Regions from separate parts of the Homo sapiens genome. Here all the other regions are linked to region 1. Evidence: promoter capture Hi-C in 16 types of primary human blood cells and fetal thymus (Javierre and others, 2016). All regions are on one chromosome and are shown on one strand. Each heading gives the region's core, a stretch centred on a gene start or on the middle of the fragment in contact. The rest is flanking DNA. Distances are from core to core; before and after follow the strand shown. Region 1 holds the start of ZNF420 (zinc finger protein 420). Region 2 holds the start of ZNF235 (zinc finger protein 235). Region 3 overlaps CEACAM20 (CEA cell adhesion molecule 20). Region 4 overlaps ZNF226 (zinc finger protein 226). Region 5 has its middle 19 kb from the start of ZNF227. Region 6 holds the start of ZNF223 (zinc finger protein 223). Region 7 has its middle 7.2 kb from the start of ZNF221.

The links. The method cuts DNA at HindIII sites, captures the fragments that hold promoters and counts their contacts. A CHiCAGO score of 5 or more calls a contact.
Region 2: the fragment with the promoter of ZNF235 here is called in contact with the fragment with the promoter of ZNF420 in region 1 in 6 of 17 cell types (total CD4 T cells, non-activated CD4 T cells, activated CD4 T cells and 3 more); the score reaches 22.8 in total CD4 T cells.
Region 3: a fragment that was not itself captured here is called in contact with the fragment with the promoter of ZNF420 in region 1 in 1 of 17 cell types (total CD4 T cells); the score reaches 7.5 in total CD4 T cells.
Region 4: a contact is called between a fragment that was not itself captured here and the fragment with the promoter of ZNF420 in region 1, in 2 of 17 cell types (non-activated CD4 T cells and total CD4 T cells). The highest score is 6.2, in non-activated CD4 T cells.
Region 5: a fragment that was not itself captured here is called in contact with the fragment with the promoter of ZNF420 in region 1 in 1 of 17 cell types (non-activated CD4 T cells); the score reaches 6.3 in non-activated CD4 T cells.
Region 6: the fragment with the promoter of ZNF223 here is called in contact with the fragment with the promoter of ZNF420 in region 1 in 2 of 17 cell types (non-activated CD4 T cells and total CD4 T cells); the score reaches 6.0 in non-activated CD4 T cells.
Region 7: a contact is called between a fragment that was not itself captured here and the fragment with the promoter of ZNF420 in region 1, in 1 of 17 cell types (non-activated CD4 T cells). The highest score is 8.2, in non-activated CD4 T cells.

What each region holds. Positions count from the first base shown.
Region 1 is chr19:37,077,002-37,079,701 of GRCh38, forward strand. It overlaps ZNF420 (zinc finger protein 420), which reads left to right and starts at 1,432. Exons shown (of 5, transcript NM_144689.5): 1 at 1,432-1,569. It overlaps LOC105372390 (a long non-coding RNA gene), which reads right to left and starts at 1,196. Exons shown (of 2, transcript XR_001754095.2): 1 at 1,097-1,196. RefSeq lists a silencer at 888-1,177 and an enhancer at 1,268-1,507. The HindIII fragment of the contact is 14,557 bases long and covers 1-2,700 here.
Region 2 is chr19:44,303,606-44,306,305 of GRCh38, forward strand. ZNF235 (zinc finger protein 235) reads right to left here and starts at 1,420. Exons shown (of 5, transcript NM_004234.4): 1 at 1,366-1,420. RefSeq lists enhancers at 1,203-1,756, 2,333-2,700. The HindIII fragment of the contact is 5,796 bases long and covers 987-2,700 here.
Region 3 is chr19:44,506,576-44,509,275 of GRCh38, forward strand. All of the region lies in intron 11 of CEACAM20 (CEA cell adhesion molecule 20), which reads right to left. Among named protein-coding and RNA genes, the nearest start is that of ZNF180, 7.4 kb to the left of the region's middle. The HindIII fragment of the contact is 1,542 bases long and covers 634-2,175 here.
Region 4 is chr19:44,174,845-44,177,544 of GRCh38, forward strand. ZNF226 (zinc finger protein 226) reads left to right here. Exons shown (of 6, transcript NM_001032373.2): 6 at 654-2,700. Among named protein-coding and RNA genes, the nearest start is that of ZNF226, 11 kb to the left of the region's middle. The HindIII fragment of the contact is 8,400 bases long and covers 1-2,700 here.
Region 5 is chr19:44,191,786-44,194,485 of GRCh38, forward strand. It overlaps a transcript of ZNF226 not described here. Among named protein-coding and RNA genes, the nearest start is that of ZNF227, 19 kb to the right of the region's middle. The HindIII fragment of the contact is 1,152 bases long and covers 849-2,000 here.
Region 6 is chr19:44,050,776-44,053,475 of GRCh38, forward strand. It overlaps ZNF223 (zinc finger protein 223), which reads left to right and starts at 1,261. Exons shown (of 5, transcript NM_013361.6): 1 at 1,261-1,420. RefSeq lists enhancers at 927-1,428, 1,248-1,487 and a silencer at 1,148-1,207. The HindIII fragment of the contact is 18,414 bases long and covers 1-2,700 here.
Region 7 is chr19:43,942,619-43,945,482 of GRCh38, forward strand. No RefSeq gene overlaps it. Among named protein-coding and RNA genes, the nearest start is that of ZNF221, 7.2 kb to the right of the region's middle. The HindIII fragment of the contact is 3,684 bases long and covers 1-2,864 here.

The DNA.
Region 1 (2,700 bases), core at 182-2,681:
AGATCAATGTATTTGATATATGGTCTTGCAAGACCAAGTTTTATTAATTTTTTTCCCTCTGAAGGAGTGGTGAAATTATACTCTATCTTCTCTGTGCTGGAAGTTCACAAGTTTTTGATTATTCAAAAATCATAAAAGGCCAAGAGGTCTTGAAGTAAGTAAAAATAAGTTCAGGTTTACCAACAAACTCTACAGCCTTAAGTTACTTTCTGCCGGCCAAGGTTTTCTCATCAGAAAATGAGGACAAGTGTTTGACCTAGAATTTGGGAAATCTGACTAGTGCTGTACTGTGCTAAAATTCACTCTTCTTATGTATAACGTTGTTTTATTATTTTATTAGTTGATGGCCTCTCAACCGTACCCAGTAATAAGAGAAACTTTACCCTCTAATTAGAAAATAATGGATATCTACTTTTGGCCTGCTGTGGCAGAGGAAAAGGCAGTTACCCTAGGACTGGTTTTGAAATAATCTTTCTAAAAACAAAGAAAAAACTACGTTAATTTTGGATTCTTCCCGATAACACATATATTTGATCCAATAGAAAAATGATGTCTAAATTACTTGTCAGATAAATTGATTATCTTTTCCAGATTATTACATTACTATTTAAGGAAGAAATAACTTGGCCATAGTATTTTCACTGTCACACACGATCACACACAGCTCATTTGCTCTTGGCACCCTTACAGACACTGAAATACAAGCACAAAGAAAGCACGTTTATATAACACAGATCACCAGTTACTCAATTACGGCCACACACAAAAAAGCAGATATACATACAGATACCCTTCATAAGCAAACCACAATAGAGATCTGTGTAAAATCGTCTTACTCTGTTAGACGATTCTACACAGTTATAAAATCCCATTACTACGCAGCTTAAAGTACAAATCACCTCACACCCCACAGCAGGAAGAATCACACACAGGCAGAAACACAACCATACACACCCGGCCACGGAAAGACTCTCAGTCCACCTGGCATCTCCCATTGTCACACACACCCCAAGGGCCTGGGAGGGCACACACAGGGTCCTCTGCAAATCCGAGGTTCCGGCGGGTCCCCGCACCGGCCCCAGCTCCTCCCCCGCACCTGCCTGGCCGGCGGGTCCCACCCTCTCTCCTGCCAGGGGTAGACCCTGGGACCACTCAGCTCGCTCTCGCAGGCCCTGAGCGTCTGACGCCTGCGCACTGAGCGCGGGCGGGCGGGCACTCCCAGAAACCTCCGGGGCGCTGCAGGCGGGACAAGCAGGTTCCACAGGCCGAGCCCACGAGCCCCTCGAGGGGTGAGCGGCCCGGGCCTCCTGGCGTTCTGGCCGGCTAGCCAAGCGCTGGACTACATTTCCCAGAGGCACGGCGTCCGGAGCGCTGGACTACATTTCCCAGAGGCACCGCTCCCGGAGCGTAGCTTCATTTCCGTTAGTTTGCGAGATTTGGAGGCCTCGCGTGGGGAGAGGGCCGCGTCTGTGGAGGAGCTTGGCTCCGCACCTGCTGGGCTGGCGAACCCGAAATTGGGCTTGGAACCCGGGAGCCAGATCTTGGACCCTGAACTGCACCTCTGTCAAGGTAGGAGTGTCCGGGATGCCGGAGCGGACACGCGCGGAGAAAGCGTCGCTGGGGTTACTCGTGTGGCCGTGTCTCCGGTTTTGTGTGCAGGCTACAGCCTGCCTGGTATTGGCGACTGCCTGTGCATACACGACTGGACGTGTGTGGCTGTGGTTTTGTGTATGAGCATTTGTATGAGTGTGAGTTGTGACTCTGAGGGTGTTTGTGACTGTTTGCTTACCTGGCTGGGATATACTTATGTGACTGTGATTTTATGTGTGCCGCGTGTATAATTGGGGTTTGCCTGTGACTATGAAGTGTGTGACAGTTGTGACAAGAGTGTTTGGATGTTCTTGTGTCACTTTGAGGTTGTGTGTAAACCTGATATCGTGGGATGGATTTGCCAGTAAATTTAAGGTGTGTGACAGTGTTGCTGTGACACGGTGTTTATTACCGCGTGTTTCCCTGATTTCGTACTGGGTTGGGTGACTGTCTGATTGTGTGTGACTGTGGGGTTGTGTGTGCTGTTTTCATGACTGTGTAAAGAGACTAAAATTGCAGCTTTGAAAGGGTGTTTTTGGCGGTATGTGTCTCTGACAAGGTGCTTGGATGTAATTATATGCCTTGTACTTAATGGGATTTTGTTTGAGACAAGGTGGTCTAACAATGTAGCATAATTGGGTGATTGTGCCTCTAGCTGTGTAACTGTGGAAATGTGATTATGTGTGACTTTATGTGGCCATTTGTATATTCTGTGACCTTATGGGGGTTTAGTCCAGTACAGAAGTAAATTTCTTTTTGGTATTTCTGGGGTTCATTTGGGGCTGAGGTCTGCCTATGGATTGTGAGTCCCATGTGGCTCTGTGCTCCTCCCATGTGGCTCTGAGGACTTAAGGACTTTTTGATTTGACCACAGTGGCTGCCCTTTCATCCATGGCCTGTATTGCTTCATTTCTGTATCCATCCTCGGTTCACCTTGGGAAATGTAGTTACTTACGAGTTCACGACTTCTTCCCTGCGTCCTCTTGCCTTATAGCCTTAAGGGGATTGGGTGCAGGGAAGTGGCAAGAAGTAAGGAAGTCAGACATTTGGACACCTGAGTGATGAATAGGAGTTATTTGCAAGTTACAGACCTGGTCTTAGGATGAGAAT
Region 2 (2,700 bases), core at 170-2,669, 7.2 Mb after region 1:
CCCTCGGCCCCCTCAACCAGCTGCTTTTGTTCATGAACATTTCATATTAACAGACCTAAATCAAATACAGCTCTCTGTGTACTCCTTCTGAACTTTAGTTTCCAAGGAAATGAGACACAGACAGGCAGGGGAATGTAACAGAGCCAAAATGCCTGGCTTCAAATTTTGGCATTTCTACCTATTTTCAACTGATCAGCAGTATAAACCTTAAGCGAATTATTAATCTCTCTGTGCCTTAATTCAGTTACCTGTGAATGGGGACAATAATAATGCCTGTATTCTCTATTTCCTGCAGCTTCTGACAAGCAAGTGCTATTATGCTTCATAAAACTGCCCTTTTGAGTATGCTTTCTAGAAAATGAATCTTTTAAGAAACCCAGAACTCAAAAATAATTGCTCTGTCCTGTGAGTTACCATTACCCTCAGAAAAGTCTGTAACTGTGATTGGTTGTCTAACATAATTAGTTCCGTTGGTAATGATAGTTAAACTGCCACAGGTTTTTTTTTCCTCCAACAGATGTAATTACTTGCAAATGTTACTAAGCTGGAGGAGCCTCAAGAAAGTCTCTTTTTCCACATGCATGAAAGCAATGACTAATAAAAACCTAAAACTCTCTAAGAAATGGTGTTACACTTAAGTTAACCACACGGGATTATTGGTTATAACCACATTATACTGAACATTTATTAGGGCCTCAGGACACCTCTGGCACTCTGCAAATCCGTAATGACGATCGCTTATCTGAGATAAAACACACAGGACATTCCCCAGGCTCCGCTGGAACTAATTCCTGTCTCCTAAACAAGAGGCTAGAAAAGTCCAAGAATCCAGGAACGGCCCCACATCAGGCAAGGATTAGAGAAGGGACAGCGGCTCCGTAGCTGGATCTCCTAGACTCAGAGGAGTTTCCAAACAACAGGCGTCTTTTTCAGTATTATAACAGAATTAACGGTGGCATCCAACATTTTCCTATGCACTGGTTTTAAGCTTATTTCTATAAAACCTCATTTAATTCTCACAAGAACATCACTGGGAACGCACTAACCCTTTACAGGCACGAGGAAACTGAGACAAGGAGAGATTAAGTAACTTGCCCAATATTTTACTGCGAGGAGCAGGCAGGACTGGCTGGTAGGTGCGTGAGGACGGCTAGGGCAGCAGACCCTCAACCTCGAAGGACGACGCGAGCCCGCCTCCCACGCAAGAGGTTCTGCCGAGGGGACGCAAACTCCCGCAGCCTCCCAACCCCGCCCTCCAGCGCTGGCCGCGGCTTCTCTTCCCCAAGCCAAGGACGGGTTCATTGCTGGCCCCACGCCTAGGCAAAGAGGGCTCGGAGAAGTCTTGGAGACCCGGAGCTGACTCACCTCCCTGGGAGATATCTCAGATCCGACCTCGCCTTCCTGGAGCGGAAGTGCCTCCGAGTGCCCACGGTTCGTGGACTCCACTTCCCAGAATTCCTAAGCGGAAGCGTCTCAGAGTTCTCTCACTCCTGGACTACAGTTCCCAGAATGCTCCAAGGGCAGCGCTTCCCACCAGCTGGGCTTTGTTTTGACTCAAGCCGGTTGGGTTTGAGCCACTTCTCTGGTGCTACTACTGTGAGATTCGTTTTTGTTTTATTCATTTTTAAAAGCTCATGAGAAAATAATTGTAAAATTTTTAAAGTGATGACATATAAAAATGAAAAGTGCAGCTTGTATTATTAAAATAAGTTAGAAACCAAAATTTTTCGCAGAAGCAGAGGGTAGGCTAAAATGGGAAGCGTAAAAGTGACTTAGGCTGAGCTCCGATGGACGCTGAACGTTAAGGAACACCAGATCTCAAACTTGTGTCAAATGCCGGCTCCCCAAATATCATCAACTCAACCTGTTGATAAGACAAAAAACAGAATTTATTGTTGATTGCAGTAATGGAGAACAACACTTCGACGGAGCGTTGGCACCTTCACAGAGCAAAGTGTCAAGGCAAGGTTGGAACTGATTGAGAACTGGATGTTTAAGGCGGGTCTTTCAATGCAAGGGATTTTATTAGTATTGCATAATGATCATGATACTACAGTCCAGGATTGGTGGATATAGCAAGGATTTTTGAAGCAAAGAATCTTAAATTGCAATCTATTGACACTTTCTTTGGAAGAGATTGAAAATTTGATGGGTCTCTGTGGAAGTTCCCATAATGAACAATTAAACAGTTTGCTTGGGCAGGAATCTCCTGGAATAAAGGCCTGCTGATGAAGACAGCTGAACAATCATGTTAGTGCCGAAAGTAAATTGTGATGAAACGGGAAAAGTTCACTTCTCCCTCTCCCAGGGCATGTGATGGGGTGTGGCTCGCTTCTTCGTGCCCAGCCGCTCAAACCTCTAGGGGAGCATGCACACGGGCAGGTTGTAGGGCTCCAACCCCACGGCAGTGTCTAGGGGTGAATGTTTACAGCTCCTGAAGCCCCAGTGGGCGTGTGTTATAGGGTGCTTTTTTAGTTCAGCCATCTGTAGGAGGCTTGTGTTAGCTCAATTAGACCCCTGACTTATCGCAAGCAAGAGAGGGCTTTCTGTATCCCAGAGGTTCTTGCCTTGGTGTACCAGAAGAATCGCATCACACATAGGCTTGGAGAAAGAGTGCAAGGATTGGAGAAACCTTGGAGAACGATTTGTAAGTAGCTCTCAGCAGAAGGGGGAGCCAGAAGGGAGATGGTTTTCGCCTGG
Region 3 (2,700 bases), core at 155-2,654, 7.4 Mb after region 1:
GATTATGACTTCTGTCTTGGCTTGAAGAAGCAAGATGCAATGTTGTGAGCTGCCTGTGGAGAGGGCCACATGGCAAAGAACTGAGGATGACCTCCAGCTGACAGTAAGAAACTGAGGCCCTCATTATGACAGCCTGCAAGGAACTGAATGCTGCTAATGACCACATGAGCTTGGAAGTGGATCCATCCCCAGCTGAGCCTCAGATGAGACCTGGGCTTTGACTGGCACCTTGATTATACAGCCTTGCAGAAGAGCTAACTAAGCAATGCCTGAACTCCTGACCCACAGAAACTGTGAGATAATGAATTCATGTTGTTTTAAGCTGCAAAGTCTGTGGTAATTCATTATACAGCAACTGATAACTCTACACCCTCTTCAGGGCCTTTTTTACTGATGCCTCTCAAGTTGGAATGTTTCCTTTCATACTGTTTGCATGGTTTGCTCCTTCTAATCCCTCCAGAATGTAGCAGACACTGAGTTCACTGAGTTGACTGACCTAACCTTCTTCCCCACACCACCTCCCTTGCTTGCTTCTATTGAAGAGGCTGGGAATGTTAATGTACCACTTTCTCAGCCTCTGTTGCTACAAGGAGCACCATATGACCTTATTCTGGCTAATGAGATATAAGAGGAAGCTTACTAGGTGGTATTTCTGGGAAGACCTTTTGCCCGACTAATAATAGGAAACAAACATGGCTCCCCTACGCAGACACTGGTGAAGAGAGGGACTTAGGTGGCTAAGTTTTTACCAGTTCAAAGCTGATTAGAGAGCTGACAAAACTAAACATGATCCATACCATGGCCTGAATCAATCTGATTCTTCTATGGAGAATTTGAACCTAGAAATGCTTAAAGGGCAGCAGAAGATGTTGTTATATATACTCTGAAGTTATAGAGAAGCAATGACCAGGACATTTACATAGAAATTCAATCTGGATTGAGAAGAATGAGATGAATTCATAGATTAGTGAAAATGAGAAACTGTATAATAAGAGAGAAACAGCTTCTTGATAGCATTCAAGTCGCCAAGAGGCCCAGGAGTAATTTCTGAAATTGAGTTATCTGATATTTCTCAGTGTTCTCTCAATTAATCCCCATTCGAACTACATTCAAAGGGTTTAACTTTCTTAACATTAAAAATTCTTGACTAAGATATTAATATATGAAACATTCAGCCAGGTGCAGTGGCTTGCGTCTGTAATCCCAATACTCTGGGAGGCCAAGGTGGGATGATCGCTTGAGCCCAGGAATCTGAGGCTGCAGTTGGCCATGATCGCACTACTGCACACAACCTGGGTGAAAGAGCAATACGTTGTCTCAAAAAACTAAAAAGGTGTATAGGATATTCACATTTTTCAAGAATAGTTATCTGTCTGTTAGGCTAAAATCTACCCTTCTTTTACCTATCCTCCATGGTAATTTATGTGCCCTCTGGAACAACAAGGAACACATTTATCCCTCTACTTGAAGCCTGTCAGACACTAAAATATTGGAGTTCTCTGTCCCTAAACTTTCTCTTTTCCAAACCCAAGAAAACCCTGTCAGTAGGACATGGATTTGAGCCCCTGTTCTGGCCTCTCTCTTATTCCTCCTCTGGATAAATTCTGACTGGTCACTGGCTTGTTCAGAATATAGAATCTGAAGTCCATTCTTGGAATTGGAGTAATCTGGCTGTCCTGATGACAGGGTTGAGATCACTTGCATTCTCTAAAATAATTCTACTAGTCCTTAGAACTATGGAGCCATCACTTGACTGCTCTAAACTTGTTACTGGAATTTTGCTTATGCCTGGATGAACTAATAGTTTTCTTCTTTTTTATTTTTTTCTTTCTGAGACAAGGTCTTGTTCTGTTGCCCAGGCTGGAGTGCAGTAGCTCGACCTCAGCTCACTGCAACCTCCGCCTCCCAGGTTCAAGTGATTCTTCTGCCTCAGCCTCCCAAGTAGCTGGGATTACAGGTGCCTGCCACCATGCCCAGCTAATTTTTGTATTTTCAGTAGAGACAGCGTTTCACCATGATGGCCAGGCTGGTCTCTAACTCCTGACCTCAAGTGATCTGCTCGCCTCCACCTCCCAAAGTGCTGGGATTACAGGCGTGAGCCACCGCGCCTGGCCCAGTTTTCTTCTTTTTGAATGATGTAACTAATCATACCTCTCTGTTTTATTGTTACCAGGAAGCTTAGAGACACATAAGAGATATAGTGGCAGATATCACGTAGGCCCAGTATATATTTTTACTTTTTACCCATATATTGACTTCTTGCTATTGTTAAAAATATTTTTTCTGATTGTAATTTCTATTTCTAATTTAACACCATTTTGTAGTGTTGTATATAAACTGCTTCAAATCTTCCATGGGAAAAACTGCTTCAAATCTCCCATGAGAAAAATGTGGGGAAGTAAATATCATGAATGAAATGAAAGATTGGAAAGGAAAGGAAATGAATGAAAAGGAATAGACTATTTAGGAATGTAACTGAAAGAGATGGCAAAGGCATAAATGAAATGGAGGGAAATTGAATAGGACAGAAAGGAATACAATAAAAATTAAAGGCAGAGAATGGAGTGAAATAAAATGGCATGATGTCCAAAGAAGTGCAAATGAAAGAAATTAAATGAAAAGGAAAATTGTAACAGAAAGAAAGAAATAAAGTAAAATAAAATGGAGCAGAAAAGAGAGTAATAAAATAAGGTAATGAGG
Region 4 (2,700 bases), core at 14-2,513, 7.1 Mb after region 1:
CATGCTTTCCTTTCACCCCAAGTGATTATCAACTTTGATTTTTCTCTTCAGCAATAACTCACTTGGTGTACCCCTACCTCAGGTACAGCTTTTCAACTTTGCAGCAAAACTGTACTTTCTAGTTCTTTTTGTATTTCAGATACCTTACTTGTAAAAGCTCTTTTGCTCTATGACCTGGCTCAAACTTAAACTTGGATTTGAAGTTAGAAGAAATGTTGGAAGTCATTTATATATGAAGAAATGTTGGAAGGACTCATATATGCATACATTCCTTGAGTGACTATGAATGACTGCCGGGCAGTAACTTCTGGGCTGTGGTTGTAAACTGTGAGCACTACAAAATGTTTTTCCTTATTGATACCATATTATGGTAGGAAAGACATGGAATAAAAAATTTAGATAGTATGTCAGTAGTTGTGTTTTTAAATGGGTTTCATTAGTGCTTAGCAATTGGGAGCTTGGTGGACCATCTCTTGGTTTTGGACCATCTCTTGGTTTCTGTCAGTATGTAAACCAGAAACTTCAAATGTGTCACAAAAGATGAGCAGAACTATCCCGAGGTTCATTAAAGTCTTTTACTCTGTCCTCAGTGTGAAATCTTAAATCTTTGAACAAAAAAATTCACTATCTCTCTGAATCCTTTGTCCTTACAGGAGAGAAAAATCAAAGTAAGTTAATTACTGTTCAAGACAGAGAATCAGAAGAAGAGCTTTCTTGTTGGCAAATCTGGCAACAAATTGCAAATGACTTAACCAGGTGTCAAGACTCCATGATCAATAATTCTCAGTGTCACAAACAAGGTGATTTCCCTTACCAGGTAGGGACAGAACTGTCTATTCAAATTTCTGAAGATGAGAACTATATAGTAAATAAAGCAGATGGTCCCAATAATACTGGGAATCCAGAGTTTCCTATCTTGAGAACCCAGGATTCTTGGAGGAAAACATTCCTGACTGAGTCACAGAGATTGAACAGAGATCAGCAAATTTCCATAAAAAATAAATTATGTCAATGTAAGAAGGGTGTTGATCCCATCGGTTGGATTTCACATCATGATGGTCATAGAGTACACAAAAGTGAAAAATCTTATAGACCCAATGATTATGAAAAAGACAACATGAAGATTTTGACATTTGATCACAATAGCATGATTCACACAGGACAGAAATCGTACCAGTGTAATGAGTGTAAAAAACCCTTCAGTGATCTCTCCAGCTTTGATCTTCATCAGCAGTTACAATCAGGAGAGAAGTCTCTTACATGTGTTGAGCGTGGAAAAGGCTTCTGTTACAGCCCAGTTCTTCCTGTTCATCAGAAAGTACATGTGGGAGAAAAACTTAAGTGTGATGAGTGTGGTAAGGAATTCAGTCAGGGCGCTCATCTACAGACCCATCAGAAAGTCCACGTGATAGAGAAACCATACAAATGTAAGCAATGTGGGAAAGGTTTCAGTCGTAGATCAGCACTTAATGTTCATTGCAAGGTCCACACGGCAGAGAAACCTTATAATTGTGAGGAGTGTGGGAGGGCCTTCAGTCAGGCCTCTCATCTTCAGGACCATCAGAGACTCCACACTGGGGAGAAGCCATTCAAATGTGATGCATGTGGTAAGAGCTTCAGTCGGAATTCACATCTTCAATCCCATCAAAGAGTTCATACAGGAGAGAAACCATACAAATGTGAGGAGTGTGGTAAGGGCTTCATTTGTAGCTCAAATCTTTACATTCATCAGAGAGTCCACACAGGAGAAAAACCCTATAAATGTGAGGAATGTGGTAAAGGCTTTAGTCGGCCTTCAAGTCTTCAGGCCCATCAGGGAGTTCACACTGGAGAGAAGTCATACATATGTACTGTATGTGGGAAAGGCTTTACTCTGAGTTCAAATCTTCAAGCCCATCAGAGAGTCCACACTGGAGAGAAGCCATACAAATGCAATGAGTGTGGGAAGAGCTTCAGGAGGAATTCCCATTATCAAGTTCATCTAGTGGTCCACACAGGAGAGAAACCCTATAAATGTGAGATATGTGGGAAGGGCTTCAGTCAAAGTTCGTATCTTCAAATCCATCAGAAGGCCCACAGTATAGAGAAACCTTTTAAGTGTGAGGAGTGTGGGCAGGGTTTCAATCAGAGCTCACGACTTCAGATTCACCAGCTGATCCATACGGGTGAGAAACCATACAAATGTGAAGAGTGTGGCAAGGGATTTAGTCGTAGAGCAGATCTTAAAATTCACTGTAGGATCCACACAGGAGAGAAACCATATAATTGTGAGGAGTGTGGGAAGGTCTTCAGGCAGGCCTCAAATCTTTTGGCCCATCAGAGAGTCCACAGTGGAGAAAAACCATTCAAATGTGAAGAATGTGGGAAGAGTTTCGGTCGGAGTGCACATCTTCAAGCCCATCAAAAAGTCCACACTGGAGATAAGCCATACAAATGTGATGAGTGTGGGAAGGGCTTCAAGTGGAGCTTGAACCTTGACATGCATCAGAGGGTGCACACAGGAGAAAAACCATATAAATGTGGGGAGTGTGGTAAGTACTTCAGTCAGGCCTCAAGTCTTCAACTTCATCAGAGTGTCCACACAGGAGAGAAACCATACAAATGTGATGTGTGTGGTAAAGTCTTCAGTCGGTCTTCACAACTACAGTCTCATCAGCGAGTTCACACTGGGGAGAAACCTTATAAATGTGAGATATGTGG
Region 5 (2,700 bases), core at 175-2,674, 7.1 Mb after region 1:
TTTCAAAGCTCCTAAGTAATGAAAAACCTAATAAAGACAACATGAAGCATGAGAAATTATTTTGATAAAACAAAAAATCTTTGTTTCCTAGGCCAGCTATCAAAAGATAAAAACCTTCTACATATTTAAAAACCCCTTGTGATTGCTTCTCCCTATGGGAAACCCATTTCAATAACCTGGAAGTTGAGCCTGATGAAAAGGTACTTGAATTCAACTAAACACTGGAAGAGTGTGTATCCAAGGTTATGAGTGTACCATATTATAGAAAAGATAAACAAGAAAACAAGTACCTTGAGCAGGCGGATATGTGGCTCTTAGAAAAAGTAAAAGAATGTGGAATTTATTGGTTAAACAGCAATTCAGACACATCAAGAAAAGACAAAATTACAGAATCAAATTATACTGGAAGAAAATATTATTCCCCTAGATTCTCCTAGGCCTTAAAGACAAACATTTTTAGTGTTAGGCCACAATAGCAGAGTCAGAACTGGAGAGAGAGCCAGAGAGAGAGCGAGCGAGAGAGCGAGAGAAGCAAGAGGAGTGAGAGGTGAGAGAGGGAGAGAGTTACAGGAGCTGACTCCAAAGTTGAGGGAGAGGGTTATCATCCCTAAGGAGACAAGGAAGAGCTGAAGGCAATGATGCATGATTTTAGTCGTTCACTTAATCAGAGTGAAAAAAGCTTCCAAAAACAAATGCAGAACTTTACGTAGATGTAAAAAAAACAAACCTTAATTCTTTCAAAGCACCTAAGTAATCAAAAACCTAATTAAAGACAACATGAAGCATGTTTCTCATCAAATCATGTGCAATGAGATACAGCAAAGTGGAACTGAGATATGAATTTGAAAAGCTTCAAAAGGAAAGTTCTTTTGAGAAACTAAATTACTATTTTTAAATGAGGGAGATAGTATTTTAAAGCTGGAATAAGGGAAATTAAGTGGAAAGTGTAAAACAGGAAAAAGCTGCAGTTCAGAAGACGGCTGAAAATTTAAACGGATTTCAGAATATCAAAACCTCTTGCAGATTTTTTTTAACTAAAATCACATAAATACATCAAGAAAACCTTGTTGCTTTAAACATAGGTGAATGGATTCTGGTTTTGTATCACTGTATTAATACTCAATTTTTGATAAAACCTGTGAATAATTCCCTTTTAACTATAGGCAACTTGATTAAACACAAATTTTTTCCATAAGATTCATCTTATATAAAAAGAAAATTGTCTGACAAATATATCCAGGCAAAATGTATGCTTGCAATTCTGAAGACCTCACTATTTTAACAACAATTTTAAAATCAGTTTATTTACCAAAGATTTACCTAAGTCACACAAATTTTTAAAAGTTGGGTTTATTACTATTTTTAGTAAATAGTTATTTACTATTTTTTCTGATAAATTGCTTAATTTTTTTTCTTTACATCAGTTTCATAAAGTTCTTTTATATATTTCTGTAGAAGAATATTATGTATGTATAACACAGACCAAGAAACATACAGAAACACAAAAAGATCTTATAGCTTATCACTGTAAAATTGTAGTCAAGAAACTGTAAAATATACTAATATAAAATCACAAGTGTATAAAAAAAGACAGTTGGATCCAAATTATATTTCTGAAAAAATGGGACAAGTTAAGATCAGTTTTTCATATTGCTAATCTTTTTTTTTTCTTTTGCCTTTGATAGGTAATCTTATGAGGGAAGTGGACCAAATTTTGGGTAAAGCTGTTTTTATAGCATTTTAGTTTTTGAAAAATCTTTTACCCTTTTTTCCTCTTCAATTTTAAATGAGTTGTTTTAATTAACTTCTGGATATTTACATTTCAGTTAGGATTGGCTAGAAAAATAAACTTCCAAGAATCCTTGAACTTATTAACAAATTTAATACAAGCAAACAAGTTAGCAGATTCAGAGCGAGCAGAGAAAAAAAGAGAGCTAGCTTAGAAGCCCGTACATGTTAATCCTACAGTTCCAGTCTCTTAATTCAGCTCTAAGGAAACAAGCTTAGAGAGTTTAAATAATTCCCATAATGGCCGTACATTATCCTTAGTGTAATTTGCCAATTATTTTTTAAATGTGCATGAGAAAGGACCATAAATTTCAAATGTATAGCTGCCTCAAGTGCCAGAGGGCTTGGCATTCTTTAGAAGTTGAAGATCCCATTGCATTTCTTATCAATCTCTCAAGAGCAAAGAAAAGCCCAAAAATTTTGTCAAAAGCATTGACCAAGCTGTTTTGTTTTAACTAGTGTACCTGACACAGAATTCATCTTTTTATACTTGGCAGATGGCCTTTGTCCTAGTTGTCTAACCTATGACCAAGTTTTCCCTGGTTGTGTAGAAATTTTCTTGAGACTGGCAGGTGCCTCAGTGGTAATCTTCCTTGTCTGTGACTATTTTATCCTTACATGGGAGACGTTTTCTTTGGAGACTGGAGTCCGTCATAGATGGCAGTGACGTTCCTAGTGGCATTTATTATTATTCTTATTTTGTTGTTACTGTTGTTGTTTAGATACAAGGTCTCACTCTGTTGCCCAGGCTGGAGTGCAGTGGTACAATCACAGCTCACTACAGCGTTGAACTCCTGGGCAAAGTGATCCTGTTATCGCAGCCTCCTGAGTAGCTGGGGAGACACGCGTGCATCACCACATCTGGCTAATTTCTAAAGAAATATTTTTAGAGACAGGGTCTTGTTATGTTGC
Region 6 (2,700 bases), core at 11-2,510, 7.0 Mb after region 1:
CATGAAAAAGCCAGCTCAACTGCCTAATAGATAAGGCACCAAGCCAGCACACAGACCCCTTCCCTCTTCCTCCCCTACCTTTTAAAAGTGCCTGCTTTCTGCTCTAAAAGCCAAGCCGTGCACTTAAAGACAACACCTGTGCTACTTCCCCTACGCTAGCTCTAGAATAAATCACTTTCTTTATACCAGATCTCCCTCTTGTTAACTGGACGTTGCAAACGGGAAGCCACTGATCTACTTTTCAGTTACAGGGGCTGATGCTTTCCTGGCTTCTCATTGCCCCTCCCAACCCATTCTACCTGGCTCATTCTTTAAACCAGTGGTCCCCAACCGTTTTAGCACCATGGACCGGTTTTGTGGAAGACAATTTTTCCACGGACTGGGGAATGGTTTCGGGATGAAACTGTTCCACCTCAGCCATTAGATTCTCATAAGGAGCGCCTGACCTAGATCCTTCGCACGCACAGTTCACAATAGGATCCGCGCTCCTATGAGAATGTAATGCTGGGCTGATCTCACAGGAGGTGGAGCTCAGGCCATAATGCTCCCTCACCTGCCGCTCACTTCCTGCTGTGCCGCCCGGTTCCTAACAGTCAGTGGACCGGTACAGGTCTGTGGCCCTGGAGTTGGATATCCTTGCTTTAAACCCTGAGCCTCCTTTCAGCCATCTGACGGCTCAACAGTCACTCTATCTAGCTCCTTGAATATTGTATCTCCTCGCTTGTTCCCTGTCCAAGAACACTCCTGTCAATCATGGGAGACATTTAGACTTCATAAATTCTTTCTATTCAATATTTTCGCTCGAGGACTCTGGGAAGGACAACTGTCAGGGTAACAGTCTGCATTCCCCACCAGGAACCTGGGGCTATGAAATTCGTTCCCCGTGGGTGTTGCGGGAAGTGTAATCGAGGAGCACCATGTAGTCGCAACACTTGAGCCTAAAGGGTGAGGTGATGGACATTTTCCTTTTGCATCTGAGGCTCTGCAGTCCAGACACCTTGCGGGATTCCTGATACTTCAGCTCAGGTAGGCGTTTCCGGAGAATTCTGGGAAGAGTAGTCCATTTTACGGGAAGTGTAGTCCACTGGCTCGTGGAACACTGGGTATTTTGGCTCTGGCAGGTGAACCGTTGAATTCTGGGAACGATAGTCCAGACACTCTGCGGAGTCCCGGGCCCTTTGGCTCAGGGGGGCGGGTCCGGGGAATTCTGGGGAGTGGAGTCCAGACACTCTGGCGCAGAGAGGACACTTCCGGTCTCCTAGTCTGAGGTTCCTGCTTTAATGACCGGGGTAGTTTGAGCCATTTCTGCGTCTTGCAGGACATTTTGAACGAACCCCCTTTGCTTGAGGCTCGCAACCACCCGATGATCGATGATCGTCTCAGGGGAAAAGAAGCCTTGGCGAAGAGCAGAGGTTTAGAGGTGCGAGGGCGGGGAGGGTGTTTATTGTTCCCGTCAGCGGAGCCTTCTGGCGTCGGGGGGCTTTGCTCGCCTCCCGGGGGGTGGGATTGGGGTGGCCTTGTGTGCCCTGCTCTGAGGGTTTCCAGGACTTTGACCTCGCTCAGTCCGCCTCCCTACGTATGCAGTGTGTACACTCTTTCTCGCAGTGTGATGTGGAATGTTAATGTCTCTGTACTTCCCATTGCTGTTCTTTAAAATGGTGCTTATAGGGTCATCCTAATAGAATTGTTTTGCGAATTGAAAGAGATAATACAAATGAAAGCCTTAAAGTTGTCCCTGTCACTTGGTGAGTGGTCTCTTGTTGCCTGATATTTTAAAACGTTTGATATCATTTCAAAGCTATAGAAAAATTGCAAAAACAGTATAAGAAATTCTCATATACCCTTTACCCAAATTTGCCAAGTGTTTACATTTTTCCTGTTTGCTTTGTTGATGACCATCAACCAAATACCACCAGGAACATACCTGTAACCAGAGACAGCTGATTGGTAGCTTTCTGCAGCAAGGAAGCCCACATACCACGGTAATTGTGGGGTGTCTTGGTAAGAGGCATTTAGGAAGGGCTGGTTATAGGGTTTCACATAACATGGTAGATAATATTGGATATTATGTTAAATAATACTGTTACCGATTACATGTCAGATAGATGTGTTAAAAGAATACTAGTATTTGTAGTGTACTTACTAGATAGTGTTGGATAGCATATTACCTAGCATCATGTTATCTAATCTGCAGTTCCATATACGAATTTGTTAAATTTTTCATTTAAAGTCCTTATGACTGTCCTCTGCCCCACCCTTCACCTATTCAAAGTCCAGTTTATGCGTTGTCTTTAGCTGTCACATTTCCATAGTTGTTCATTTGGAGTTTGATATTGAAGGGGGCCTGCCTCTCCACACCTGTGGGTGTTTCTCACAAGGTGGAAATGAGAAACTGAGAAAAGAAATAAGACACAGACACAAAGTATAGAGGAAGAAAAGTGGGCCCAGGGGACCGGCGCTCAGCAAATGAGGACCTGTACCGGCACTGGTCTCTGAGTTCCCTCAGTATTTATTGATCACTATCTCTACTATCTTGGTGAGGGGGATGTGGAAGGACTATAGGGTAATGGTGGGGAGAGGGTCAGCCGGAAAACATGTGAGCAAAGGACTCTGTCATAAATAAGTTTAAGGAAAGGAGTTGTGCCTGGATGTGCACATAGGCCAGATTTATGTGTGACTTTACACAAACATCTCAGTGCA
Region 7 (2,864 bases), core at 316-2,815, 6.9 Mb after region 1:
TTCCACAGTGACAACACCATTTTACATTTCCACCAGAAATGCACAAAGTTTCCAATTTCTCCACATCTGTGCCAACACTTGTTGTATCAGCAATCTTTTGATTAGTGCTTTCATGGCACATATTTTTCATCACTCCATTTTCAGTCTCTCTATATAATTATATTTAAAGTGAGTTTCTTATATATAGCTTATAGTTGGGTCACTTTTTTTCGTTGTTGTTGTTTGTTTGTTTATTTGTTTTTGAGACGGAGTCTGGCTCTGTCGCCCAGGCTGGAGTGCAATGGCGCAATCTCGGCTCACTGCAAGCTCCGCCTCCCGGGTTCATGCCATTCTCCTGCCTCAGTCTCCCGAGTAGCTGGGACTACAGGCGCCCGCCACCACGCCGGGCTAATTTTTTGTATTTTTAGTAGAGACGGGGTTTCACCGCGTTAGCCAGGATGGTCTCGATCTCCAGGCCTCGTGATCCGCCCGCCTCGGCCTCCCAAAGTGCTGGGATTACAGGTGTGAGCCACCATGCCTGATCGGGTCACGTTTTTAAAATAAATAATGTGACAAACATTGTCTTTATGTAGTTAGACACTTCACATTTAATGTAATTATTTATATGGTTTGATTTATACCTACCAATTTATTATTTTTGTGTTTGTCTCTTTTTGTTCCTATGTTACCTCCTTTCTTTCTTCTTTTGGATTATTTGAATTTTTTTAATGCTCTATTTTTATTTGCTTTTTTTTTTTTTTTGAGACAAGAGTCTCACTCTGTTGCCCAGGCTGTACATGTTATTTTTAAACTACATGACTTTGGTTTTATCTTTTGTTTTGTTTGATTTAGTGTTGCTTTAGAAACCCATGTATACATACCTAACATATTGTGGACTATTTTGAGCCAATAGTTTATGGCTTCACATAAAACAAGGAAAACTTACAACTATTGAGATCTGTTTATCCTCCCCTCTTTGTGCTATAGTGTGTGTATTATATCTACATGCTCTGAAAAATCCCACCAATACTTTAAATTTTTATATTCAACCATCATATATATTTTAAAGAATTTAAAAGGGGGGGAAATATTGTATTATGTGTACCAAGTTTACTAGTTCTGTTTCTCTGCCTTCATTCCTGAAACTTTCCTCTGATATTATTTCTCTTCAGCATTTCTTTTAAAGTATATCTGCTAGTGATGAATTCTCTTAGTTTTCTTTTGTCTGAGAAGGTCCTTATTTTATTTCCATTTCTGGAGGATATTTTCCTTGAATATAGTGTCTGGATTGACAATTCTTTACTTTCAGCACATTAAAATGCTGTTTTACTGTCTTCTGACATCCAGGGTTTCTGATAAGAAATTTGCATTCATTTGAAATGTTGTTGCCCTATTTGCAATGTATAATTTTTCTTTAAACGCTTTCAAACATTTTTTTCTTTATCTTTGATATTTTAATAGTTTCATTATGATGTGCTGGGGTATGGTTTTCTTCATTTTTAACATATTTAGGTTTTGCTGAGTTTTTTTTCAATCTGCAGATGTATTTCTTTTATTAAATTGGTGAAGTATTCGACTATAATTTATTTGAAAAGTTTCCTATTTCAATACCTTTCTCCTCCTCTTCTGGAATTCCAATCATGGGAATGTTAGATCTTTTAATGTTGTCCCAAATGTCCTTAGGGCTCAATTCAGTTTTTCTATTTTTGCTTTTTCTCCTCCAGATTCGATATTTTATACTGTTCAGTTTTTAAGCTCAATGAGTTGCCTTTGTCATCTCCATTCTGCTACTGACTGATTTTAAATTTCAGTTATTGTATTTTGAAGTTCTGAAATTTCCATTTGCTTGCTTTTATAGTTTCTAGTTTTCTGACAACTTTTATATTTCCATTTATTTCAAATGCTTACCTATACCTCATGGAGAATGATTACAATAACTTTTAAAAGTCTCTGATAATGCAAAAATCTAGAACATTCAGGGGTTGGAATCTCTTGAATGGCTTTTTTCTTGAAGTTGGTCAGATATACCTGTTTTTCTTTTTACATGTCAAGTAATTTTGGATTGTATCCTGAGCATTTTCAATATGTTACCAGATTCTGGTCCTATTAAAATCTATAGAGAACATTGAGGGTTTTTTTTTTGTTTGTTTTAGCAGGCAGCCAACCAGGTTAATTTCCTTTTTTTTTTTTTTTTTTTTTTTTTTTTTTTTCAGATGGAGCCTTGCTTTGTCACCCAGGCTGGAGTGTAGTGGCGTGATCTCAGCTCACTGCAGCCTCTGCCTCCTGGGTTCAAGCAATTCTTCTGCCTCAGCCTCTCAAATAGGTGGGATCACAGGCACATGCCACCACACCTGGCTAATTTTTGTATTTTTAGTAGAGATGGGGTTTCACCATGTTGGCCAGGCTGGTCTCAAAATCCTGATCTCAAAGTGATCTGCCCACGTCAGTCACCCAAAGTGCTGGGATTACAGGCGTGAGCCACTGCTCCTGTACTTAATTTCATATCATAAGTTTTGTCTCATATTCTCTATGTGTTAGTTCTAAAAACTTTGCTGTGCTATTTGGGTATGCCACTCAGTGCGCCACTCAGGGATTAGCTGATTTCTGAGCAATGGTTTATAACATAGTTCAGTTCTCAATGTATTTTCTATGTTCCTTTGGGTGTGTTATTTGAATGTGCAGCTTAGTGATGAGCCTTTAAATTGTGTCAGTTCATCCACAAAACTGAGGTATCCCCTTCTCCAGCTCTGTCTTCTGAATCTTCTCTCACACTCTCTGGATTCTAAGGGCTTTCTTCCCAAGATCCTTTGACCCAAAAGATGAGATTCTCTCAGAGTTTTAGCCTCCCACCCTGTCACCCTTGGCTTACTCTGGTGAGAGAAAAG